Linked DNA regions of Homo sapiens: all the other regions are linked to region 1. Evidence: promoter capture Hi-C in 16 types of primary human blood cells and fetal thymus (Javierre and others, 2016). All regions are on one chromosome and are shown on one strand. Each heading gives the region's core, a stretch centred on a gene start or on the middle of the fragment in contact. The rest is flanking DNA. Distances are from core to core; before and after follow the strand shown. Region 1 holds the start of UBE2E1 (ubiquitin conjugating enzyme E2 E1). Region 2 has its middle 240 kb from the start of UBE2E2-DT. Region 3 has its middle 170 kb from the start of UBE2E2-DT. Region 4 has its middle 140 kb from the start of UBE2E2-DT. Region 5 has its middle 47 kb from the start of UBE2E2-DT. Region 6 overlaps UBE2E2 (ubiquitin conjugating enzyme E2 E2).

Evidence for each region. The method cuts DNA at HindIII sites, captures the fragments that hold promoters and counts their contacts. A CHiCAGO score of 5 or more calls a contact.
Region 2: a contact is called between a fragment that was not itself captured here and the fragment with the promoter of UBE2E1 in region 1, in 1 of 17 cell types (M2 macrophages). The highest score is 6.3, in M2 macrophages.
Region 3: a fragment that was not itself captured here is called in contact with the fragment with the promoter of UBE2E1 in region 1 in 1 of 17 cell types (fetal thymus); the score reaches 7.0 in fetal thymus.
Region 4: a fragment that was not itself captured here is called in contact with the fragment with the promoter of UBE2E1 in region 1 in 2 of 17 cell types (M2 macrophages and M1 macrophages); the score reaches 6.5 in M2 macrophages.
Region 5: a fragment that was not itself captured here is called in contact with the fragment with the promoter of UBE2E1 in region 1 in 1 of 17 cell types (M1 macrophages); the score reaches 6.5 in M1 macrophages.
Region 6: a contact is called between a fragment that was not itself captured here and the fragment with the promoter of UBE2E1 in region 1, in 6 of 17 cell types (naive B cells, M2 macrophages, monocytes and 3 more). The highest score is 9.0, in naive B cells.

What each region holds. Positions count from the first base shown.
Region 1 is chr3:23,803,467-23,807,867 of GRCh38, forward strand. It overlaps UBE2E1 (ubiquitin conjugating enzyme E2 E1), which reads left to right and starts at 2,489. Exons shown (of 6, transcript NM_003341.5): 1 at 2,489-2,622; 2 at 3,771-3,955. The coding sequence starts at 3,804. It overlaps UBE2E1-AS1 (UBE2E1 antisense RNA 1), which reads right to left and starts at 3,439. Exons shown (of 2, transcript NR_046652.1): 1 at 3,353-3,439; 2 at 558-1,248. RefSeq lists silencers at 2,425-2,534, 2,615-2,744, 2,935-3,234, 3,435-3,614 and an enhancer at 3,915-4,004. The HindIII fragment of the contact is 12,732 bases long and covers 1-4,401 here.
Region 2 is chr3:22,961,358-22,965,758 of GRCh38, forward strand. No RefSeq gene overlaps it. Among named protein-coding and RNA genes, the nearest start is that of UBE2E2-DT, 240 kb to the right of the region's middle. RefSeq lists a silencer at 1,422-1,632. The HindIII fragment of the contact is 3,830 bases long and covers 1-3,695 here.
Region 3 is chr3:23,033,372-23,037,772 of GRCh38, forward strand. No RefSeq gene overlaps it. Among named protein-coding and RNA genes, the nearest start is that of UBE2E2-DT, 170 kb to the right of the region's middle. RefSeq lists an enhancer at 2,280-2,780. The HindIII fragment of the contact is 301 bases long and covers 2,423-2,723 here.
Region 4 is chr3:23,064,463-23,068,863 of GRCh38, forward strand. No RefSeq gene overlaps it. Among named protein-coding and RNA genes, the nearest start is that of UBE2E2-DT, 140 kb to the right of the region's middle. RefSeq lists an enhancer at 3,605-4,306. The HindIII fragment of the contact is 2,934 bases long and covers 739-3,672 here.
Region 5 is chr3:23,153,885-23,158,285 of GRCh38, forward strand. No RefSeq gene overlaps it. Among named protein-coding and RNA genes, the nearest start is that of UBE2E2-DT, 47 kb to the right of the region's middle. The HindIII fragment of the contact is 2,033 bases long and covers 1,611-3,643 here.
Region 6 is chr3:23,219,645-23,224,045 of GRCh38, forward strand. All of the region lies in intron 3 of UBE2E2 (ubiquitin conjugating enzyme E2 E2), which reads left to right. Among named protein-coding and RNA genes, the nearest start is that of UBE2E2, 19 kb to the left of the region's middle. The HindIII fragment of the contact is 3,655 bases long and covers 367-4,021 here.

The DNA of each region.
Region 1 (4,401 bases), core at 1,239-3,738:
TTACTTACAGATACATATTTGACCTTGCCAGTCAGTAGAGCACAGGTATTTCTGCCCTTTATGGATGAGGGAACTGAGGCTCAGGGAGGTCAATTTAGCTTTTTAGGCCTTGTAGTTAATAAGAAGGAGAGATAGAAAGTTGTGTATGAATTTTTTTTCCCCTAAGACAGCTGCATACAGGTCTTAAAAATAATTCGACATAAAGATTAGTCTTTTGAGAGGACTGGATTCTTTTCTAAACATTTTGAAGTTTTTATTCCCTGTCATCAGGTCATTCCAAAACGATAAAGCACTAACTTAAGCTAGCTGGAATTAGAGATTAGGGGGAACAGTACACAAAAGAGGGCAAGAAACCTTCCAGACAGGTGGTTGGGAAATCACTTTTCCTTATAGGAGGAGCTGTTAGATTTCATGATTTCTTTCACAAGGAATCAGTCCAACCCAAGCATCAGTAACACAACACAAAATATCATGTTCTGTTACAAAAGAATTCTTATTATAGCTGGTAGGCAATTTATGCAAACCAATATTAAAGAAAAAATTCACCTACTGTCCTGATCACTTCAGCAAATCAAACCTTTTATTTTCCTGTGATCTCTGCTAGTTCTTGTCTTTATAACACATGATTTTTTTACTGGTTGTATTCATAATGTAGACATATATTTTTAAGTATCAGAAATCCAAATTTTCATAGGAGGAAATTTCAATTTTAATAACTATTTTTAGATTATTTTCCTCATCCTGAGTTTATTTCATCTTCTTATTGTTTTCTTCTGAATTTACATCTTTTCATCAGAACAAAAAGAATACAATCAGTTTTTCAGAAGTTTAAAAAATTTTTTCAAATATATAGCAAAGAATGTCATCATTTTTATATACTCTACCAGGACTCCTGAAACCAAACACTTAAGAAAGGTTATGTCTGGAAATTTTTTCAAAATCTATATGCATTTCAGTGGTGGAGAAATAGTTCTGTCTGGAAGCAGGAGGCTGAAATTATGACCCTGAAGATTTCTTCCAGCTTTTGAACTTCTTATTCTATGACAACTCCTGGTAGATACAGGTTTCCTGGTAGGGATTGAGCAAGAAGCATGCACAATTACTTTATGAGTCTTGATAAAGCTGGAATTTCAGGTTGATGGTTAGAAGGAGTTCGGCTGGGTCGTGAGAATGCTTGTTTTCCTGGTTACTGGATATGCCATGGGCTGTATATCTTGTGTTGTCCTGTGGTAACTGAAGCCACTGTTGCTGTGGAAAATGATGGCAGTTTGAATGAGATAATTTAGAGTGACCTATGGAAATCTGAGGCTGTCTCCTTAATGTACAAGACCTTGTATGTGTGGCACTGTTGTATTTGAATGGCACACATCTCTTTAGTTCCCTTCAACTGAAATGACAAAAGGTGAGAAACTGAATCGTAATTTGATGGCTTAATATTAAAAAAAAATTGGCAAAAATGCTAAATAAGGAACAATTCAGAAGAATTGCTGATCATTTCAAAAATATTATTTGCATAGCATTTATAGGTAGCTAAAGAAAGAGAAAAATGGCTTAATATTTTAAAAATAATTTGGTCAATTTAGCGATCTGGGGATTCTGCGATCCCCAGAACTTTGCATCCAATTTCCAAAAACCAAACCTTACATCTAATGTAAAATGACACAAAAAATTCTAAATCCAGTCTAATTCAGTAGTATATAGCTTATTCCCAGTGATGTCTCACATTCGCAAGCCCGTTACACGTTGGTTTTACCTGTCACCAAAACCTTTGTATCACTCTTATAAAAAACCACATCACTTTCTATAAAAAGTGAGTGGAAGAATCTAATATTGTAAAACTGCACGTGCCTCGCGTGACCTGAGCAGAAAATTCCTAGTTTGGGATTTTCTCACAGGCATACCTAAACTGACCTCTGCTCCTAGCAGGTAAATTGCTAGAAGGAGAAGCAAGTGTCAGTCCAAAGAAAACCCTTGTTGTGTGATTTTTTTTTTCTCTTTAATCGCTTTTTAGGTGGAGTACCCGCTGCATTCTCTAAAGTCTTTGCCACCACCAGATTACCAACGTTTTCACCAATTTGCCACCTCCCTACTCCTCTCCTTTCCAAAAGCCCTCATTGGAAAGAACTTTCTCTCGTGACCCCCCTATTCCATCTAGTTCCAATCACTCCCAGCGCCCCCCATCTCCATCGGCTTCCCCTCTCCCGCCCAGAATCCAGGTTCCCAAACCACTTAAGAGAAAATTCACAACCCTCGCCCCCTTCCCGGGCGTCCGGAGGAGGCGCTGGGGTGGGGGTGTCTGTGGGGGACAGGGTTTCCTGGGGTCTCCTGGGTCTTCCTCGCGCACCCCCAGGAGGTGTTGCAGGGGGAGGGGAGCGCGGGTGGGTGGGACCGGGCCGGGTGGGGGAGGGGTGAGGGCGAGGAGGAGGAGGAGGAGGAGGCGGCGGCGGAGGAGTGGTGTGTGTGCGAGCGTGTGTGGCTGGGGGAAGCCATTGCCTGTTTAATAGTTGCTGTTGCTGCACTTCCGCTTCTCTCCCAGCGAGAGAGAGACACGAGTGGCCAGGCCCAGCCGCAGCCGCAGCAGCAGCCGCCGCGGCGGCACGGAGGAGCCAGACACAAAGAGAGGTACGGGGATCCCCCCAGCGGCCCGCCGCCCCCCGGCCGCGCCGCCGGGCCTCGGGGACACCCCTCGCCGCCTCCCCCGACTCGCGCCGCCGGGGCCGCCGGGCCGCAGGGCACGGGGCCGGCGCGGGGGGGGAGCGGAGAGGGGCTGGGGAGCCCCAGGGGTCCGGGGCCCGCCCGCGGGGGATGGGCAGGGACCCCGGGCCGCGTGGGGTGCGGGGGCCGCCCGCATTGAGGACGGGGGTCATTGTGGCTCGAACTGTCAGCGCTGCCCCAAGAGCCCCCCACTGGCCACCGAGGGGCCCGGGAGCGGGGGTGGGAGGGAGTTGGGGGAGCCCCGTTTTCCCCAGGGGCGGGGGTTCGCGGGGATTAACCCCTCCGGGGCGGAAGGGCTCATTGTTATGTCTTCGCTGCGGAGGCCGACCCCCCCATTCCCCGCCGCAGCCCCTATCCCCCTACAGGAGTGGCGATCGGGCGTGTGCTCCGGACCCCCGCCCGGCCGCATAGCTGTGAGCAGGGCGGCCAGAGGCAGGCAGGCCGGGAGGGGCGTCGGGGCGCGGCGCGGGGGGGCCTCGGGCCTCGTCGCCCCTGCCCCCCGCCGGCCTCTCCCTTCCCCCACCCGGGCACCCGCTCCCCGCCTCCGTCCCCCTGTTTCGGCTTCCTCTCTTACTCCTTCCCGCCCCTCCTCTCTTCCCGACCTCGCCAAACTCCGCTCGTGGCCCCACAGTCTCACCCGGGCCACCGGCCCCTCACGACCCCCGGAAAGCGGACAAAAACAGCCCCGAGGCCGGCCGGCCGCCGGGACCTTCCCTCCCTGCCCCGCCGTGGCGCCCCGCGCCCCCCGCCCTGCCCTCCTTCGCCTCCCGGGCTACTCCCTCCCTGCCCAGCGGAGAGCCCCGGGGGGCGAGGGAGGGGCCTCTCTCCTAGCTCCAGACCGTTTTCCCACAGCGTTCCCCACTTGGGGCCAAAAATAAACAAGCCGCGTCCGATTTGCAAAAGCCTTAATGGGCCTGCAGACTTTGAAAAGCGAGTGGAGGGCGGTGGGCGGCCGCGTGCGCCCCTGGTCAATGCCCTCCTGACAGCACCCGAGTTCCTTATTTACACTGGCTGCATGGTTTGTGTGTTTCTGTTTTGTTTCTCTCCCCCTGCAGGGGCTGTTTGCGGGGTGGGGTGGGGGGTTCGCTATGTCGGATGACGATTCGAGGGCCAGCACCAGCTCCTCCTCATCTTCGTCTTCCAACCAGCAAACCGAGAAAGAAACAAACACCCCCAAGAAGAAGGAGAGTAAAGTCAGCATGAGCAAAAACTCCAAACTCCTCTCCACCAGCGCCAAGAGGTACTGTGCTCTTTTTTTTTTCCACAGGCTTCCTATTTCCGAACTGCCTCTTGCTGCATTTGGTCTGCCTCCCAATGAGGATAGCTTAAACGCTCCTCATGGTTTATGTGTTCTTAAAAATGAAAGAAGGGCCTTGGAAGCCCTAATTATTTTCTCTATTGCTGCTTCTGTTTTTAAATCATTGCTCACATGCAGCTGTTGCGGCTTGCCTCTCGCATTTCTTGCTGAAGTTTGTAAGATTCCTCGTTACTTTTATTAGTGACCCCCAAATCTGATTTCAGATTTCTTGTCCTACTAATGGTTAATCTGTGACCTTCCCCAAGGCCATGATCCCATTTCTTAATTACTAATACCAGCCCAGAGAACTGCATCAAAATGAATTCTGTGACCATTTTACCTTCTCCTCACCTGTTGCATGGATGATCTTTTCTAAATAGAGCTTTCTT
Region 2 (4,401 bases), core at 531-3,030, 840 kb before region 1:
CTTCTAAGCTCCACTTATTATTCCCAATGTACTTCTAGTGCATTTAGAATTTCCAAGTAGCAGCAGTTGGGCTGGCACCTAATAAAGAATCTGGGAATTTGATGGGGCCAGTCAGACAGAGGTCACCATAGTAGTGATACCTTCCCTTGGACAGGTAGGAATATCCTGATGGATAATGTTTGAAACCTACAAATGACCCCAGAGCATGAATGACAATAAACAACTATGCAAGGTGGAATAACACATTTAAAATTCTACTAATGCCACGCTCATGTTGCTGACACAGCCTACTGGACTACCCTGGGTGTGATTCCTATAGGAAATTGTACTTAACCACAAAGACTTGCTTTGAAATAGCTATAAGGCAGACTGCTATAGAATTTTGTTGCTGGTCACAACTCATGAGAGTGGTAGTAACATAAAGAAAAAGCATAAATGCCTGCAGTTACTTGCAAACAAGTAACCATAATATTGGGAACATAGAGCATTATTCTATGATGTGTTATTGCTTTATGACGTATAAACCATAGAACATTTCAGTCATAGCCATCTCATCTTTTTGCTGTTACTGTCAAAAGAGGGATAGGTCACTAAAAAATGGAAACCAATTTTGTGGTAGCATTAGTTTGAGTAACAGATTCATAAGATGCAAAAATATTTGCAACAAAAATAGAATAAAACCACAGAAAACAGAAATACTCAAGAGTGATAATGAATATGATATATCTAAAGCACAGGATAACTTAAACATATTAGAAATATGAAATTAATATACAAGTCACTACAGATGACGTGATTTAAAAACATTTTAAATTATCTGAATAGTGATATACAAAAAGATATAAAAATTTAAACCATTTTCAGCAGCACTGAAACTATAGTTTTGCATGGACTGTGTAAACATGATCTCCAACATAGTTCAGGAGATCAGTCAGGATCTTTCTGGTGTAAATGACAGGAATTCAACTCAAACTAGTGCAAGCATTTTTTCATAACTAAAAAATGCAAGGATGAAGAGGGCCACAGGAAATCAATGTTCATTCTCTCTCTCTGTCTCTCTCTCTTTCTCTCTCTCTCTGTCTCTCTCTCTCTCTCTCTCTCTTTCTCTTCCTCTCTCCCTCTCTGTCTGCTCTGCTACTTTCTGAACTGTATCCTCACTCTTTCCTGAATAGACACCTTGTTCTATGTAGCTGGGTTTAGGGTCAGAAGCAAATGGCCTGCTACGCTCTGAATGTCCGTGTCCCCCCAAAATTCCTATGTTAAAATCTAATCCCCAATGCGATGGTGTTAGGAGGTGGAGCCTGTGGAAGGTGATTAGGGATTGGTGTCACCGTGGCAAAGGAGCTCACTACCAGATGCGCTAGAAGTCAATACTCTGACACCGGGTTTTTGAGAAAAGAAAGACTTTTTACTGCAAGTAGACTCCCAAAGAGACAGGAGTCAAGCTCAAATCTGTCTCCCTGGGCTGGGGCTAAGGCAGTTATTTTATTAGAAAAGGTTTAGCGGGTGGATTCCGAGATTAGCAGGTGATTGGTGGAAGGAAAGGGGAGGTCTGGAAAGTCCTCAGGCATGCGTGGTTCTCTCTTCATGCCTCTTTCTTGGGGCCCATGTGCAAATTCGGGGGGAGTTAGTATGAAATGTGGTGGAAATTCAGGCTGTGACATCAGCAAGCTCACTCTGCACAAACTCCAGTCAGCCACATTGCTCCCAACTAATTTCAGCTAGTTTTGTTACCTTTTAAATGGAGGGATTTTCAGAATTTCAGCAAGTTGTTTCTTTTCTTAACTGCTATCCTGCAACTCAATATTTTATGTTAGTCACAGGTTTCTTTAATTCTTCAGGGCATGGTTTCATTAGCGCCCTTACAAAAGAGGCCCCAGAGAGCTGCCTTACCCCTTCTGCTGTGTGAGGACACAGCCAGAAGAAGCCACCCATGAACCAGAAAGTGGTCCCTCACCAGACACGGAATCTTCCAGCACCTTGATCTTAAACTTTCCAGCCTTCAGAACTGTGAGAAATAAATTTCTGCTGTCTATAAGGTGCTCAGTCTATGGTATTTTGTTATAGCAGCCCAAATGGACTAAGACATGGCTACAGACATTCCTATTCCCAGAGGACAAACACCATTTTTCTCTTACGGCACTCCATGTTAAATCTATAGTAAGGATTCCAAGGGGCCCAGTTTGCGGCACATCCTCACATCTCTGGGCCAATTTCCAAAGTCTGAAGAATGGGGTGTTCTAATGGCCATCCTTGGATTCGCTGTAGCTTGGTGGAGGCTGGGAGGCAAAGAACAGGATATTGTGATCTGTGGCCTTCTTATACACAGACTACTCACAGCAAGGTGCTATTGCCCGAAAAGGAGGAGGGTCAGGAAGTATGAGAGGGGATAGCTAAGCAGGAATACACACACACACACACACACACAATCTACTATTTGCTATTAGGTCAATTGATCACCAGCTCTAGAAAAGTGGTTATAGGGTATCAGCCCACTCCCATATGGCTCCACAGTGGGGGAAGGGGAGAAGCAAAGTGAATGAATCACTATGGGAAGGTAGACTTTACTTCAAATACAGAGAGAACTTTCTAACAATTAGAGGACACAAAAGATGCCATAAGCTATACCTCATAATATACTGAGTCTCCCATTTCTGGAGATGTTCAGTTATGAGCTGGAAGACAATTAGGCAGAGATGTTGCAATGGGAATATAAATTTCAGATGGGTGGGAAGTGAATCCAAATTACAATAACCTTGAACATTTATGATTCTGCAAATTATAACATATCGGATGGGATGAGATTTATCCTCAGGGACAGTGTTGGCCATTAGACATTTTGGTTCTTGGGACCTGCCTTCTGATGGAGGTCACCGTCTGGTGGTCCATGGACCACCTAGTATTATTTTAAATATTTTATTTAATTGCCAATACTGCAAACTCTTGGAAAATTCTTTTTTTTTTCTTTTCTTGAGACAGGGTCTTGCTCTCTACTCCGAGGCTGGAGTGCAGTGGCACAATCACAGCTCACTGCAACCTCCTGGACTCAAGCAATCCTCCCACCTAAACCTCCAAATTAGCTGGGACTATAGGAACATGCTGCCGTACCTGGCTAGATTTTTAATTTTTTCTAGAGATAGGGTTTCATTCTGTTGCCCAAGCTGGTCTCAAACTCCTGGGTTCAAGCAATCCTCCCGCCTCAGCCTCCCAAAGTGCTGCGATTACAGATGTGAGTCCCGTGCACCTGACTGAAAATTCTTACAATTTTTTTATTTTACAGCCTCTCTTGAAAATACTTGATCCGTGTTATCAGGAGCAAAGAGTGACTACACTCTTAGCACAGGGTTCATGCTCTCCCAATTTTCAGAGTCAAAGCCAGCCTACCTCATTTATTTACAGTGCCTCTCTCTCTCCTATTTATATTTCAGTTTGCAACCCATGTGTAAACAAAAGTTTTAACGGTACTTTTTACTCTGGTTACCATAGCTTTATCCCCTTTCTTTATCAGACTGATATCCTCTACCCAATCACACATTCACACATTCTTAACCAGTATAGCAACAACTATAATAATAATAATAATAATAATAATAATAAATATTAAAAGGTATTGAGTAACACTTATTTTGTGTTCACGCTGTGCTAGCTAAGCACTGTACTAAAGCAGCTATATTCTGCAACAGTCAGTATAGAAAAGCTTCCACTGCAGGAACAAATAACTGCCAATCTCAATGACTTAATGCAGAAAAGTTCGTTTTGTACACACATTTCACATCCAATGGGAAGCAGCACGGTGTTCTAATCCACTATAGTTGCTCAAGTATCTAAACTGACCAAGGCTCTACCATCTTGTGGTTTCCTTTGATCTTCTCAAAAATTTAGTAGACTTCTTTCTATTCATTTGCCAAAAGTTACATGGACCAATATCTTCACCCATCATTCTTTATGAAGCATGTTATTTAAAAACATTGTTTTCCAACCTTTTCCCCTAGAACTTAAAGTTTATTCAAATATGATCTGCCTCTCAAGTTATAGCACATGACAGTATTACCAAACATTTTGCTGCTACATGACATGGACTGCATTCTTCTGGTCTCTGATATCACTATCCTCATTGTCTTTGGCCCAATCATTAAGCCAATACAAAAATACTTTGGGTTTTTATAATAATAACACTCTACTTCCTGTAAGATCAATTATTATTCACAGTAGCCTAAGCTTGTGCTGCTGTAACTAATCATCCAAATCCTCAGGAGCTTGACACTGTAAAAGTTTATTTCTCGGCTGGGCGCAGTGGCTCACGCCTGTAATCCCAGCACTTTGGGAGGCTGAGGCAGGCGGATCACGAAGTCAGGAGTTCAAGACCAGGCTGGACAACATGGTGAAACCACGTCTCTACAA
Region 3 (4,401 bases), core at 1,323-3,822, 770 kb before region 1:
TTTATTGATTTTTTGAAGGGGTTTTGTCTCTACCTCTTTCAGTTCTGCTCTTACTTATTTCTTGTCTTCTGTTGGCTTTTGAATTTGTTTGCTGTTGCTTCTCTAGTTCTTTTAATTGTGATGTTAGGGTGTTGATTTTAGATCTCTCCTGCTTTCTCTTGTGGGCGTTTAGTGCTATAACTTTCCCTCTACACACAGCTTTAAATGTGTCCCAGAGATTCTGGTAGGTTGTGTCTTTCTTCTCATTGGTTTCAAAGAACATCTTTATTTCTGCCTTTATTTTGTTATTTACCCAGCAGTCACTCAAGGGCAGGTTGTTCAGTTTCCATGTAGTTGTGCAGTTTTGAGTGAGTTTCTTAATCCTGAGTTCTGATTTGATTGCACTGTGGTCTGAGAGACAGTTTGTTGTGATTTCTGTTTTTTACATTTGCTGAGGAGTGCTTTACTTCCAACTATATGGTCAGTTTTGGAAGCTGGGTGATGTGGTGCTGAGAAGAATGTATATTCTGTTGATTTGGGGTGGAGAGCTCTGTAGATGTCTATTAGGTCTGCTTGGTGCAGAGCTGAGTTCAAGTCCTGGATATCCTTGTTAAACTTCTGTCTCGTTGATCTGTCTAATATTGACAGCGGGGTGTTAAAGTCTCCCATGATTATAGTGTGAGAGTCTAAGTCTCTTTGTGGGTCTCTAAGGACTTGCTTTATGAATCTGGGTGCTCCTGCCTTGGGTGTATATACATTTAGGACAGTTAGCTCTTCTTGTTGAATTGATCCCTTTACCATTATGTAATGGCCTTCTTTGTCTCTTTTGATGTTTGTTGGTTTAAAGTCTGTTTTATCAGAGACTAGGATTGCAACTCCTGCCCTTTTTTGTTTTCCATTTGCTTGGTAGATCTTCCTCCATCCCTTTACTTTGAGCCTATGTGCGTCTTTGCATGTGAGATGGGTTTCCTGAATACAGCACACTGATGGGTCTTGACTCTTTATACAATTTGCCAGTCTGTGTCTTTTAATTGGAGCATTTAGTCCATTTACATTTAAGGTTAATATTGTTATGTGTGAATTTGATCCTGTCATTATGATGTTAGCTGGTTATTTTGCTCGTTAGTTGATGCAGTTTCTTCCTAGCATTGATGGTCTTTACAATTTGGCATGTTTTTGCAGTGGCTGCTACTGGTTGTTTCTTTCCATATTTAGTGCTTCTTTCAGGAGCTCTTGTAAGGCAAGCCTGGTGGTGACAAAATCTCTCAGCATTTGCTTGTCTGTAAAGGATTTTATTTCTCCTTCACTTATGAAGCTTAGTTTGGCTGGATATGAAATTCTGGGTTGAAAATTCTTTTCTTTAAGAATGTTGAATATTGGCCCCCACTCTCTTCTGGCTTGGTTTCTGCAGACAGATTCACTTTTAGTCTGATGGGTTTCCTTTTGTGGGTAACCCAACCTTTCTCTCTGGCTGCCCTTAAAATTTTTTCCTTCATTTCAACCTTGGTGAATCTGACAATTATATGTCTTGGGGTTGCTCTTCTCGAGGAGTATCTTTGTGGTGTTCTCTGTATTTCCTGAATTCGAATGTTGGCCTGCCTTGCTAGGTTGGGGGAGTTCTCCTGGATAATATCCTGAAGAGTGTTTTCTAACTTGGTTCCATTCACCCCATCATTTTCAGATACATCAATCAAACGTAGATTTGGTCTTTTCCCATAGTCCCATATTTCTTGGAGGCTTTGTTCATTTCTTTTTACTCTTTTTTCTCTAACCTTGTTTTCTCGCTTCATTTCATTAATTTGATTTTCGATCACGATACCCTTTCTTCCACTTGATCAAATCGGCTATTGAAGCTTGTGCATGCCTCACAAAGTTCTCATGCCATGGTTTTCAGCTCCATCAGGTCACTGAAGGTCTTCTCTACACTGTTTATTCTAGTTAGCCATTCATCTAACCTTTTTTCAAGGTTTTTAGCTTCCTAGTGATGGGTTTGAACATGCTCCTTTAGCTTGGAGAAGTCTGTTATTACCCACCTTCTGAAGCCTACTTCTGTCAACCCGTCAAAATCATTCTCCATCCAGCTTTGTTCCATTGCTGGTGAGGAGCTGCGATCCTTTGCAGGAGAAGAGGCACTCTGGTTTTTAGAATTTTCAGCTTTTCTGCTCTGGTTTCTCTCCATCTTTGTGGTTTTATCTACCTTTGGTCTTTGATGTTGGTGACCTACAGATGGGGTTTTGGTGTAGATGTCCTTTTTGTTGATGTTGGTGCTATTCCTTTCTGTTTGTTAGTTTTCCTTCTAACAGTCAGGTCCCTCAGCTGCAGGTCTGTTGGAGTTTGCTGGAGGTCCACTCCAGACCCTGTTTGCCTGGATATCACCAGCAGAAGCTGCAGAACAGCCAATATTGCAGAAGGGCAAATATTGCTGCCTGATCCTTCCTCTGGAAGCTTCATCCCAGAAGGGCTCCTGCCTATATGAGTTGTCTGTCGGCCCCTACTGGGAGCTGTCTCCCAGTTAGGCTACACGGGGGTCAGGGACCCACTTGAGGAGGCAGTCTGTCCATTCTCATTCTCAGAGCTCAACCACTGCTCTGGGAGAACAACTGCTCTCTTCAAGCTGTCAGACAGGGACGTTTAAGTCTGCAGAAGCTGTCTGCTGCCTTTTGTTCAAATATGACCTGCCCACAGAGGTGGAGTCTATAGAGGCAGTAAGCTGTGCTGAGCTGTGGTGGGCTCCACCCAGTTCAAGCTTCCTGGCCTCTTTGTTTACCTATTCAAGCCTCAGCAATGGTGGACGCCCCTCCCCCATCCAGGCTGCCACCTCGAAGTTTGATCTCAGACTGCTGCAATAGCAGTGAGCAAGGCTCCATGGGCGTGGGACCTGCCAAGCCAGGCATAAGGGAGAATCTCCTTGTCTGCCAGTTGCTAAGACCTTGGGAAAAGTGCATTATTCAGGCAGGAGTGTCCCGTTTTTCCAGGTACAGCCTGTCCTGGCTTCCCTTGGCTAGGAAAGGGAAATCCCCCAACCCCTTGCACTTCCTGGGTGAGACGACACCCCACCCTGCTTCGGCTCATGCTCCATGGGCTGTACACACTGTCCAAACTGGTTGGACCCATCTTCTGCATCAATCACGCTGGGAGCTGCAGACTGGAGCTGTTCCTATTCGGCCATCTTGGAATGGATCCCTTCCCTCTACTATATTAATCATTAAATTTTCTTCTTCACATTTTAACACTTCCATGGAATTTTTTTTTAATTTTCATAGAGTACTCTTCCCCTTGTCTGACTTCTCTCAAGAATACTAAGGTGAAGTCTATATTTATAAGAATTATGCCCAGTATTTCTACCATACTATTTTTTTCTAAATACAGTATTTTTTTTATTTTGTGCTATATCAATGGATTAATTACGACTTAAGTCACTATCTCTAAGTCCCAGATGAGTTATTCATTAATTTCCTTAAATACCCAACGAAACTCTTTGACATCTCTCTGATCTAGACTCTCCCTTAATGACTCTGTTCTCCACTTCTTACTTACTTTCCGTTTTTCTTATGTCACTTCTATAATTAGAAAGAACACTGGGGCTACAAAATGTGGTCTTTAAACACCCAAAGGGCAAAAGCAAACATTCCATGAGAGTCAAAGAGAAACTGAAGCACCAAAAAAAGAACGATGACTTAGCCAAATTAACTCCCCCAGGAAATTATTTAAACTATTATGAAAGTGTTTTATAGTATGATAAGAGTAAAAAGCAAAAATGAAAAGACAGATATTCTGCTGCAAATTTTCTCTTGTAGTTAGGTAGATACATAAATATAGACAACTAGATGATAATTATCATATCAAGAAATGCTATTATACCCAAGCACATGGAGAAATTCCTGCCAATTTGGAATGTGAAACAAATTTAGTACAATAGAGCAATGTGCATATTGTCCTGCTGGAAAACTATTTGTTTAAACTAGGAAGTGGTAAATGACATCACATACACAAGGTTGATGGGTAAAATCACTTGCTGTGGAACCATGAAGATGGTAAATCCAGCACCACCCAAAAGGTGGATGCAAGGACTGCTCCTTGCACAGAAATCCTCCATCCACTAAGAAATGCCTTGCTTTTCATTTTTTCTCTCAAAGGAAACTTTCTCTTTTCTTTAATATCTCCATTTAGGCCAAAATATAAAATGTATCTACTTTCTTGCTTTTTTCAGCTATTCCTCGCTCATTAAGTTTCCTACTAAACATGTTATTGATTTTTAAAGTTCTAATAATTATATGAGTACTTTAGCTACTAAAATAGCCACCATTTTTTGAACTCCCACTATGTACCAGGCAATAGTAAGCATTTTCTATAAATAGCATTTTTTTATTCACAGAACAACTATATGAAGCAGAAATTATCCTGATTTTTACAGGAGAAGAA
Region 4 (4,401 bases), core at 956-3,455, 740 kb before region 1:
CTGGACTCTTGGACTTACACCAGTGGTTTACCAGGGCTCTCAGGCCTTCGGCCACAGACTGAAGGCTGCACTGTCGACTTCCCTACTTTTGATGTTTTGGGACTTGGACTGGCTTCCTTTCTCCTCAGCTTGCAGATGGCCTATTGTGGGACCTCACCTTGTGATTGTGTGAGTCAATACTCCTTAATAAACTCCCCTTCATACATACATCTATCCTATTAGTTCTGTCTCTAGAGAACCCTGACCAATACAGTTGCTAATTAGCAGACTGAGACTAGCACTCTGCCTTGATTCATACTCTGTGAATCCCACACTCCACCCCAAAGAAGTTGGGAAACTGACAGGGCCATTTTTTGTTGTCACAATGAATTGGGTGTGATATTTAGTGGTCAGGAGTCACAGATGCTAATTGTCCTGACATCCATGGGATAGTCCCGCACATAAAGAATGCATACATTCCATTAAAATGTCAAGTATTCCACTGGACATTCTGTTAGGTGAAAAATGTGTGTATAAATCTGAGCCTAGAGGTTAACTTCATTTCACACATGAACACAAAGTATTTTTGTAGGAATGCAACTACTGTGCAAATCAAGGGAAAAATAGACTTTGTTTTGATCACAATTTTACTAAGAATTGTTCGCGAATTGCCTAAAAAAAAATCACATGAATAATGGCAACAACACTTCTGGTAATTCAATTGCCAATTCAGCACACCTGTGTCCAGTTCTATTCATAAGCTTTCTCTTTCTCAGTGCAATGCTCTGATTTCTTCATTATGTCCTCTAGGACCAGGCTACTCACAAAGTGTATTCCACGTGCCAACAGCATCAGCATCACCTGGAAGTTTGTGAGAAATGTGAAATCTCAAGGCCCATCCCACACCCACTGAACCAGAATATGCTTTTTAACAGGATCTCTGGATATCTGTATGCACAGTCAAGTTTGAGAAGCACTGTTCCAGTGTATTTCTGTACAAGCATTATATATTAAAAATAAATAGTATTATTTACTTTTACTTCTCTGTTTTATAATTAGAGCATACTGATTTTTTAAATTATGTTTGTAGGTAGATTATCAATAAATGTTAAGTGTAACAAAATATTTGTTTGAAATGGAGGAAATTGGGTGGGAGAGGGTTGAGAATCACCTAGTTGGGACCTGTCCATCTGCCCAGTTATTGATTATCTACTTTCTTGAGCCCACCACCAGCTGAAGACTTGGAGCCACCCCAATTATGGTATCACCATTGATTGAAACTCCTGCTGCTGCCACTCACTAATCAGATGGATCCCCTTCAATAAACACATCAATCCCAGTCAGGAGCAAATCCCAAGACTCAGTGGGATAGAAACTATCTTTTCACTGACAAGCCATCCTCTTTCTCTTAAAGACCAGACTCATAGCCAAGTTATTCCTGCCATGCTACAAAATTTTCTCCCATACCCATGTACGTTTTCCAACTCCTAATATTCTCTGCAAGTGATCCCACCAGTCATGAAGAAGTTACAGATATAGTCTATTTGCATTCAAACTTGAGGATTCTATGTGAAATTTTCTGAGCTTCTGGAATGTTGTATACACCCACATCCAACTTAACACAAAAGTACTTTTTTTTTTTTGAGATGGAGTATCACTCTGTCACCCAGGCTGGAGTGCAGTGGCGCGATCTCAGCTCACTGCAAGCTCCACCTCCCAGGTTTGTGCCATTCTCCTGCCTCAGCCTCCCGAGTAGCTGGGACTACAGATGCCCATCACCACGCTTGGTTAATTTTTTTTTATTTTTAGTAGAGACGGGGTTTCACCGTGTTAGCCAGCAAAAATACATTTTTTTAAGCAAAATATGAATGATTTGGTGGGGGTGAGAGGAATTGGCACTAATAATGTATTATATGTTATTATTCCTCATTATGGCATAAGCACTCAAAGAATTGTTTATTTCAATTATAAAAGCTGATTGGTACAATCTTAGTTTGAATTACGCCACTGCAAAGAGAATTAGGAACTTAATTATCCAAGTTTCCACTTCACAAATTATCTAGGAAAATCTAATCATTTCTAAATACAGCAAAATTGGATATACATATGATGCATGAAGGAATTATAACTTGCACAAAAGTTTCAGGGGCTCCCATGATGTTAAGATATTTTTAATACTCATCGTATTATTGGGCTTTTTCACGTAGTTCCCATCAATCAAAAGAGAAGTACACAATTTATCAGTATATTTCCTGGTTAGGGGCTTGGTATAAATCATTTACACAGTCACGTTACACAAACTTTTCTTCATTATATACTAGAAATAATTTTTTATTTCAACCATCCTACCCTGAATCACCACCTCCCAACTTGTAGTTTAATAACATGACTTGTTCCATGACACAGCCTATAGACCTTTGAGATAGTACAGACATGAAGCAGGAAGGAGTAGTTTAAAAAGTCAGAAAACTGGTACTTAACCCTTGTGCCAGTTATCAGCTATGTGATTTCAGTCATTATATCAAACTCTGAGAATCAGTTTTCACATCTACAAAAGAAGAGAGTGGACCAAATGCTCTATAGCATTCTTTCCATCTTTAAAATTTTGTGATTATATTCACAGACCAAACACAAGCATGTTCTATAAACTGTAAAACAACTTTATAACATTTTCAATTCAACCTTGATATTAGATCACTTGGTTTTATAAAGGATTATAACTGTTATTGGTTATTGATATGGTTTGGATTTGTGTCTCCATCCAAATCTCATGTCAAAGTGTAATCTCCAGTGTTAGAGGAGGGGCCTGGTAGAATGTGACTGGATCATGGGAACTGACTTCCCCCTTCCTGTTCTCATGATAGTGAGTGAGTTCCCATGGGATCTGGTTATTAAAAATGTGTAGGACCTCCCCCTTCTCTCTTCCTCTTGCTCTGGCCATGTGAGACATGACTCTTTCCTCTTTGCCTTCCACCATGATTGTAAGTTTCCTGAGGCCTCCTCAGCCATGCTTCCTGTATAGCCTGCAGAAACATAAGCCAACTAAACCTCTTTTCTTTATAAATTATACAGTCTCAGATAGTTCTTTATAGCAATATGAGAATGAACCAATACAATTACGTATGTTCATGAAAGGAAGCAATGTCATGCTTAATTTTAAAAACCACATATAATTAATTTCTGTAAGTAATATTTTAACTTTTTTACTCTCCTGACTAAAATCTGTTAGCATTTCTGGCAAACTGGAATTCAGGGAGGCAGAAGTTGAGTTACAAACCCCAGGGCAAAGGAAGGATGCAGAAAGGCAGGGCACTGAAATTGTTAGAGATAAAGCGGGAAAAGCAGTTAATGTAATGGAACTGAACTCAGGTCTGCCCACTCAGCATGGTAATACCAAATATCCACACTGAGGTTTTATAGCAGGAGAAACAAGGGCATTCATTTGCAGGACACCAAGCAAGGAGAATCCGACAGCTCACACTTAAGACCCAACCTCCTGGATGGCTTACAATCAAGGGTTTTTAAAGGCAGATGTAAATTTCAGAAAAGTAGAAGTTACTGGCAAAATCATAAATCAATACATGGAAGTTATACATTGGTTTGGCTTTAAAAGGCAGGATATCTTAAAGCAGGGGAGCTTACTGGTCATGTATATTCAAAGATTCCCTGATTTGCAATTGATTAAGGAAGTAAAGCTTTGTCTAAAAACTTGGGGTCAGTCGAAAGGAATGTTAAGCTCTGGCCTGTGGGCATAACTTCCTCCAGGTCCCTCAGGAAGAAATTGAGAACAAAGAACAGAAGTCAGAGTTCAGTCCTCAGTTCCCCTTTATCTGAGGTCTATGTGCCAATGGATGGCATTTTCTATTTGGTAGGTGTCCAGGTTTCTGAAAAACAACTCAAGGATATGTGTTAAGGTGTTATCTTTAGTTTCTATAGGGAACTAAACATTTTGTGGCTCTAACTTCCTTGGCTATTGTTTCAAGCTATTGTTACCTTCTTGCTTGTCAGGTTGCTCATTTATTTTTCAAAGCTAGCTAGGTACCTGGAATTTTCCTTGAAGAAACTCAAGATTTGCCTTCATTTTTATGCTTGAGCGGGCCCAGCAGGCCCCTCAGAGGAGTCCCTGCTGTGTCTCAGTAACACATACGCAAACAACTTAGGGTTGGCTAAATTTCTAAACTCCGAGGACCTAAATTTGATCAGTTTGAAAGATGACCTTTGTATAGGTTATAATCTAACTTTTTAATAAAACCTTTCTCATAATTTTGCAAGAGAATAAAACCTCATGTTTGCTAAACAGCCTTTGGCAACTTGCCGAAATCTACCGAAATGTAAGGTGTGTATGACCTTTGGCTCAACAGTTCTGCTTCTCCAATTCTATTCAGCAGTAATACTGGCTGATATACAGAAAGATATGTGTTC
Region 5 (4,401 bases), core at 1,377-3,876, 650 kb before region 1:
AAATAAACAAATAGAATTATAGCAAACTAAAAAGCTTCTGCACAACAAAGGCAACCCCATATATGTTATATATGACATATATCATACATATGTTATATACGACATATATCATACATATGTTATATACGACATATATCATACATATGTTATATACGACATATATCATACATATGTTATATATGACATATATCATACATATGTTATATATATGCTATATATGTTATATATATGATTATATATGATATATATATATATATATATATATATATGCCTCACAACCTAATCTTCCTTTATGAGGCCCCACTTCCCAAAACTGCTGCATTGAAGATTACATATCCAACACATGAACTTTGGAGAACATATTCAAACAATACATCAGCTATATTTTCTTTCAATGAGGTGAGGTTGTTTTGACCTGATTGATTCCAATGATTGGCTTGCACAGAACAACTTCAGGCCTTGTTGTTCAGTTTTTATATTGTTTCATTTTAAAGGAAATAAATTTGTTATAGATTTGAGATATTGCTACTTTAAAAGCTTCCTGGCCAGGTGCAGGGGTTCACACCTATAATCCCAGCACTTTGTCAGGCCACGGCAGACAGATCACTTGAGCCCAGGAGTTTGAGACCAGCCTGGGCAACATGATGAAATCCTGTCTCTACAAAGAATACAAAAATTAGCCAGGTGTGGTGGTGCACACCTGTAGTCCCAGCTACTCAGGAGGCTGAAGTGGAGGATTGTTTGAGCCCAGGAGGTGGAGACTGCAGTGAGCTATGACCATATTACTGCACTCCACCCTGGGCAACAGAGTGAGACTCTGTCTCAAAAAAAAAAAAAAAAAAAAAAAGGTAGCATTTCTATATATAAACAACAGACTATCTGAAAAGGAAATCAAGATGGCAATTTCATTTATAAGTTACCTAGGAATACATTTAACCAAGGAGGTAAAAACCTCTACAAGGGAAACTACAAAATACTGATGAAAGAAACTGAAGAGGCTAAAAGTCAAATGGAAAGACATCATATGCTCATGAATTGGAAGAATAAATATTGTTAAAATGGCAATACTACACAAAGCAATTGAATGTAATTCCTATCAAAATACCAATGACATCTTCACAGAAACAGAAAAAAATGCTAAAATTTATGTCAACCCACAAAAGACCCAGAATAGCCAAAGTAATCCAAAAAAATAAAGCCGGCAGTGTCACACTACCAGACTTCAAAGTATACTACAAAGCTGTAGTAACCAAAACAGCATGGTACTGGCATAAAACAAGACACATAGACTAATGGGACAGAATAGAGAACGCAGAAATTAATCCAAGTATCTACAGCCAACTGATTTTTTTACAAAGGTGAAATGGTGCTTGGAAAATTGGATATCTGTATGCAGAAGAATGAAACTAGACCTGCCCTTCCTCTATATAAAAACCGACTCAAAATGGATCAACCACCTAAGGATAAGACCCAAAATGATAAAACTACTAGAAGAAAACATAGAAGAAATGTTTTAAGACCTTGGTCTGGGAAAAGATTTTATGAATAAGACCTCAAAAGCATAGGCAACAAAAGCAAAAATAAACAAATAGGATTATAGCAAACTAAAAAGCTTCTGCACAGCAAAGACAACCCAGAGAACTGGAGAAAATATTTGCAAACTACTCATCCTATAGGGGATTAATATCCAAAATATATAAGGAACTCAAACATCAACAGCAAAAACAAACAATCCAACTAAAAAAAATGGGCAAATGATCTGAACAGACACTTCTCAGAAGACATACAGATAGTCAACAAATACATGAAAAAATTATCAATATCGTTAATTGTCAGGGAAATCAAAACCACAGTGAGGTATCATCTCACCCCAGTTAGGATGGCTATTTATCAAAAAGACAAAAAATAACTAATGCTGGCAAGGATGCAGAGAAAAGGGAACTCTTACACACTGTCAGTAGGAATGTAAACTACCACAGCCACTATGGAAAACAGTATGGAGGCTCCTCAAAAAACTACAAATAGAGCTACTATATGATTCAGCAATCCGACTACTGGGAATTTATCCAAAGGAAAGGAAACAATTATACCAAAGAAACATCTGTACCCCCATGTTTATTGCAGCACTATTCACAAGATACAGGATCAACCTAGGTGTCCAACAATAGACGAATGGATAAAGAAAATGTAGTATATATACACAGTGGCTATTCCACCATAACAAAGAAGGAAATCCAGTCATTCTCAGCAACTTAGATGGAACAGGAAGATATTATGTTATATGAAATAAACCAGGGACAGAAAGTTAAACCCTGCATGTTCTCATTCACACGTGGACCCTAAAATAAGGTGATCTCATAGAAGTAAAAGAGTAGAACAGAAGATACCAAAGGTTGGAAAGGATGGGGGAAGGAGTGAATAGGGAGAGATTTGTTAAAGGTTATAAAATTACAGCTAGATAGGAGAAATAAGTTCTAGTACTCTATACCACTGTAGGATGACTACAGTTAATAATATTCAGTTTCACACAGCTAGGAGGAACATATTGAATGTTCCCAAAACAAATAAACGATAAACATTGGAGATAATGGACATGCTAATTACCCTGGTCTGATCACTGTATATATATGGAGACATCATTATGTACCCTTTGAATAAGTATAATTATTGTCAATTAAAAATAAAATAATATAAAATCATCCTGTTAATATACCACAGCAAGAAAGTATAATTTACTTATTCATGAATTATCTGCTACTTATACTTCAAACAAATAAGCTAACTGTTTGCTCATTTACCTAATAGGCTGAGTCTAAAGAGCCATTAGTGGCTACTAGTAAATGAAATGAAATAGTTTTTTTTAATGTAATTGCACTCTGCATTTTATATGTAGTGGTTTTATGTAAAAACACCTCTGATTAAGGATTGACTTCAAAGTTAACATTTAATTTCTTGTAATTGCCTGTATAAACAAAAGGAAAATTCATAATTTAAACATTTTCTGCTGTAGACATCAGGTCATGTCCTTGCAGTTGCAATTTATTTGGCTCGATTAGCATGTAATGATTTTGACATTGGCAGGGTGATAAAAGGGAGAATTGAGAGTATGGAGGGAAGAAAATAAATGCAAGGAGGGAGAAAAAAGAGGAAATAAACAACAAAGGAAGGAGAAATAGAACATCATGGGAAAGAAAATAGAATACATGGTAAGAAAGGAGAAATGAGAATGAAGGAGAAAAGGAGAAACAGAAGATTAAAAGTTCTCTCTCGCCTGGAGGGGTGTTGAAAAGACCCTGAGCTGGAACCCTTATTCACACTTTGGTAAAAGGGAGTACCAAGTTCTTAATCGGATATGGAATTTCTTATATTTCACATTGCTCCTCTTTGTTTAACGTCAAGTTATGTAAGATAATTTATGTAAGATAAAACTTGGCTTGCATGAAAGTATTTTTTTTAATACTTGTACAAGATTTAAGCACTTGTTTTAGAGACGGATGTTAACTATAATCGATGGCTCGGTTGAGCAGAGTCTGTGCAACATGCCTGGAATTTGTAAAAATTGCCAACTATTAATAAAGCAGTTTCTTCCAGTTGTAACTGTGTGCCATTCTTTGAAGCATTCCCTGAGGAATATGTTTAAACAAGCTTGGATAGAACTTGTCATGGTATCATATAACTGCTATTGAACTGTTCTGAGCTTTGAACCAGCCATGTATCCTTTGTGTGCAAATGAAAAACAATCTGTCATAAAAGTGCATGAAAGTTGACAAGACTTTCTTTAATAGCTATATTCTAGGAATACATATTTATGAGTGTTTTTAAACACTAGCTTGCTAAATACTTACCACATTCTCAGATTGTTTAAAATATGAACCATTGACCTTAACAATTACTACAACTTACTTTGCAGATAAACTTAAACTTGTGGTTTTCTGACCATCAAGCAGCCTATAATGTTCTACATTAAAGAATGAACCTGTGTCTATATTTGCTTTCAGTATTTTATGATTCAGTGTAGACATAATTCAAAATAACTGTCTCAACTTTGTCTTAATGCTTATAATTTCCTTTCAGCATTTTATAATTAGATCCAGAAATTATTCAAAATAACTGTCTCAACTTGTGTTAATGTTTATATAATTGTCCAAACCATATCAATTATTTTCTAATATTGTATCATTATACAATGAAATCAGAAGGGTTATTTAATAAAGGCAACAATGGGGCAAGAAGAAAGTAAAGAGCTCATTTTCCTTCTCATCTAAAAGTTATTTTTCTCTTTCAAATCTTACAATTATCGATATAATTTTTTATTTAGAAATTTTGTCGTGGTTTTAAAGTACTGACTGACCTGAGGGTTGAATGGCAATGTTGCCGCAGTGATGTATGAATATTGTTAGG
Region 6 (4,401 bases), core at 944-3,443, 580 kb before region 1:
ATCAGTTAAGTCATATCTCATTTCAGAAGAAAGCATCCCCTTACTCTGCTCCCTTTGTGGATTACCTCTCCTATCACACATGCCTCTCAAAACCCTGCCTTTTGGTTCCCTGGGTAGTTGTTAGTCTGCTATCACATGTAAAGATTATATGTGAGGGAACATCTGTGGGTTTTACCTGTTTAGTCAGAGAGTGGAGAACGATTTTTTCTACTGGTTGTCTGGGTAGGGGTGGGTGTGTGTCACATTCCACTTTGAGTGTGGTTTATCCTATTTTCGGGAACCTTAACAGACAACCCAATACTGTGTGTTTGTCAGGTTAGATGGAACCTCTGAATTTTGGTGCATCTCTTAGGTGATATCTAGTTAAGCTTCTTTTGGAATCATATTGAAGGAACTGTATGTGTTTAAGCGTTGTGCAAATCTGTTATTTAAAGAAGTTGAGACTATCAAGTCACCCCGAATCACAGCATTCAGTGTAGATAAAGTTTTATGTAAGGCATTTTTAGAGGAAGTTATTCTAATATAGTATTGGTTAATTTTTTTTCAGGTTTTGAATAAACAAATATTATTTTAAAGAACACCTACAAATGATTTAATAGATTGAATTATTTCATGTAGGAGATATTTGCCTCTACATATTTCAGTTTTTTCTCACTTTATTGTTGTCTTTGAAGTAAAAATGCAGTAAGATAGTTTTATTTTTGAAGTTGGGTTAAATATGTCATCCTTTTTAAAAACATTACTCACAGTTTAATGGGTAAATATTTTAAAACAAAACTTTATAGCTAAGAAAAAATTTCTGCTCATAAAATCGTAGCGTCTGTAGGGCCATAGGCATAGAAAATTACACTTCATTTGAGTGAAATTTGGTATATGCTTAGAGTATTTCCTATAAGTAGTGGAATATATTTTTCTTGGCCTTAACTGTCATGTTGGCTAACATAACTGACCCATGACATTTGCAAGGGTTCTATCCTGAGGCCTTCACAGATCCACTGATCAATAAATGTTTTCATACTACTGCTGAGTTAGAGGTGCTGGGCAGTTGGTTAGAATTGCTCGTTACCTTGGTGCCTTGCACACCAGCTTAGATGGATAGAGTGGGTCAAATTGATGCTTTATCCTTACAGACCTCTAACAGGTAGATTCACTGCCCCTTATAAATGACTACAGGTTGTAACTTTCACAGTTCTTCACAAATTGTTAAAAGCAAGATCTTAGATCTGTGCATGTCAGTGTGTTCATTTATACTTCCTCGGTGCTAGTGGAGAACTGGCAGCTAGTGGGCCAGCAAATCTCCAGATAAAAATTAAAATTAAAATCGTCATCATCCAAAGGATAACTTGCTCCTCTGTATCACAGAGAAGCTAACTTGTTCAAATGCTATTATGATCTGCTACTGCTAAAGTTTGTATTAGGTTTACGAGCAGGGGAATGACAGAGAATCCTTATTACTTTTTGGAAGAAAAGACTAAGGTAAAATGATTTATTTGGATTTTGATTTTTGGTCTAGTAATTGAACAAGTAAAAGGAGGAAGTAAACCAAAAAAGAGGATGTAGTTATACTAGCAGTTTACACTTCTATTTCTATGTGTTTCAAGAATCTGCTCATGGAACACTGGCGCTGCTTTTTAATTTTGTCTTTTATTTGATAACAGCTTTATTGAGATATAAAGTGTAAAATTCACTTATACTTTTAGGTTTTTAGTATAGTCTCGGAGTTTTGTAATCATCACAGTCTGTTTTGCAATATTTTGATACCTCCCAAAAAATAATCCATGCCTTTTAGCAGTCACTCCTTCCCCATTTTCCCCCAGCTCTTTCACCACCAGCCCTCGGCAGCAATTAGTCTACTTTCTGTTTCTATAGATTTGCCTTATCTGGACATTTTGTATAAATGAAATCTTGTGTGCTTTTTGTGTCTGGCTTTTAAAATTTTTTTTACAAAGTGTAATATTTTCAAGGTTCATCCATGTTGCTGCATGCGTTAGTACTTCTTTTTTTTTTCTGAGACGGAGTTTCGCTCTTGTCGCCCAAACTAGAGTGCAATGGCGTGATCTTGGCTCCCTGCAAGCTCCACCTCCTGGATTCAAGCGATTCTCCTGGGTCAGCTTCCCGAGTAGCTGGAATTACAGGCGTGCGCCACCATGCCTGGCTAATTTTTGTATTTTTAGTAGAGACGGGGTTTCACCGTGTTGGCCAGGCTGGTCTTGAACTTGATTACCCAAGTATTTCTTTTTTAAAAATATTTTTAATTGAGGTAAAATATACATACATGATTTACCATCTTTACCATTTTTAGTGTAAAGTTCAGTGAATATACATTTATATATTTATATTCTTTTTTTCCTCTTGATCCCCCCACTCCCCTTCCTGGCCTCTGGTAACTACCAGTCTACTCTCTATTTTTGAGATCTACATTTTTAGCTCTCATGTAAGAGTGAGAACATGTGACATTTGTCATTCTCTGCTGGGCTTATTTCACTTAACCTTGCCTGTGGTTCCATCCATGTTGCTGCACATGACAGGATTTCATTCTTTTTTATGGTTGAATTAAATATTCCATTGTGTGTATATACCACATTTTCTTTATTCATTCATTTGTTAATGGGCACTCAGGTTGGTTCCATATTTTAGCTATTGTGAATGGTACTTGGGTAAACATGGAGGTGCAGATATCTCTTTGATACATTAATCTCCTTTCTTTTTGATATATACTGATATGCTTTGGCAATGTCCCCACCCAAATCTCATCTTGAATTGTAGCTCCCATAATTCCCACGTGTTGTGGGAGGGACTGGCGGGAGATAATTGAATCATGGGGGTGGTATCCCCCATACTGTTCTTGTGGTAATGAATAAGTCTCACGAGATCTGATGGTTTTATAAGGGGAAACCCCTTTTACTTGGCTCTCATTCTTCTCTTGTCTGCCACCATGTGATGCGTACCTTTCACCTTCACCATAATTGTGAGGCCTCTCAAGCCAGGTGGAACCATGAGTCCATTAAACGTCTTTTTGTAAATTGCCCAGTCTCAGGTATGTCTTTATGGGCAGCGTGAAAATGGACTAATATATAAATATATATACCCAGTATAGGAATTGCTGGATCATATGGAAGTTCTGTTTTTAGTTTTGTAAGTAACCTTTGTACTGTTCTCCATAGTGGCTGTACTAATTTACATCCCAACAACAGTGTACGAGCCTTCCCCTTTCTCCGCATCCTTGCCAGCATCCGCTATTGCCGTCTGTTTGATCTAAGCCTTTTTAACCTCAGTGAGATATTGCATTGTAGCAATGTTGAGCATTTTTTAATGTACCCTTTGGCCATTTGCATGTCTTCTTTTGAGAAATGTCTGTTTACATCTTTTGCCCCCCCCCCCTTTTTTTTTTTTTTTGAGTTGTCTCTCTCTGTCACTCAGGCTGGAGTGCAGTGGCGTGATCTCTGCTCACTGTAACCTCTGCCTCCTGGGTTCAAGTGATTCTCCTGCTTCAGCCTCCTGAGTAGCTGAGACTACAGGTACATGCCACCATGCTCAGCTGATTTTTGTATTTTTTTTTTTTTTTTGAGATGGAGACTCACTGTGTCACCCAGGCTGGAGTGCAGTGGCATGATCTTGGCTCACTGCAACCACTGCCTCCCAGGTTCAAGTGATTCTTCTGCCTCAGCCTCCTGAATAACTGGGATTAGAGGCATGCACCACCACACTTGGCTAATTTTTGTATTTTGAGTAGAGATGGGGTTTTACCGTGTTGGCCGGGCTGGTCTCAAACTCCTGACCTCAAGTGATCCTCCTGCCTTGGCCTCCCAAAGTGCTAGTATTACAGGCGTGAGCTGCGCTTGGCCCTTTTGCCTGTTTTAAATTGGATTATATATATATATTTGCTGTCAAGTTGTTTGAACTCTTTACATATTCTGGTTACTAATCCCTTGTCCCTTGTCAGATAGATAGTTTGCAAATATTTTCTCCCATTCTGTGTGTTGTCTCTTCACTTTGTTGATTGTTTCCTTTGCTGTGCAGAAGCTTTTTAGGTTGATGTAATCCCAGTTGTATATTTTTGCTTTGGTTGCCTGTGCTTTTGAGATCTTACACAAGAAATCTTTGCCCAGACCATTGTGCTGTAGTGTTTCAGGTCTTAGATTCAAGTCTTTAATCCATTTTGGTTTGATTTTTTTTGTGTATGGTGAGAGATAGGGGTTTAGTTTCATTCTTCATATATAGTTATCCAGTTTTCCCAGCACCATTTATTGAAAAGACTCTCCTTTTCCCATTGCGTGTTATTGATGCCTTTGTCAAAGATAAGGTGGCTGTAAATGCGTGGATTTATACCTGAGTTCTCTCATCTGTTTCACTGATCCATGTGTCTGTTTTTATGCCAGTACCATGCTGTTTTGATTACTA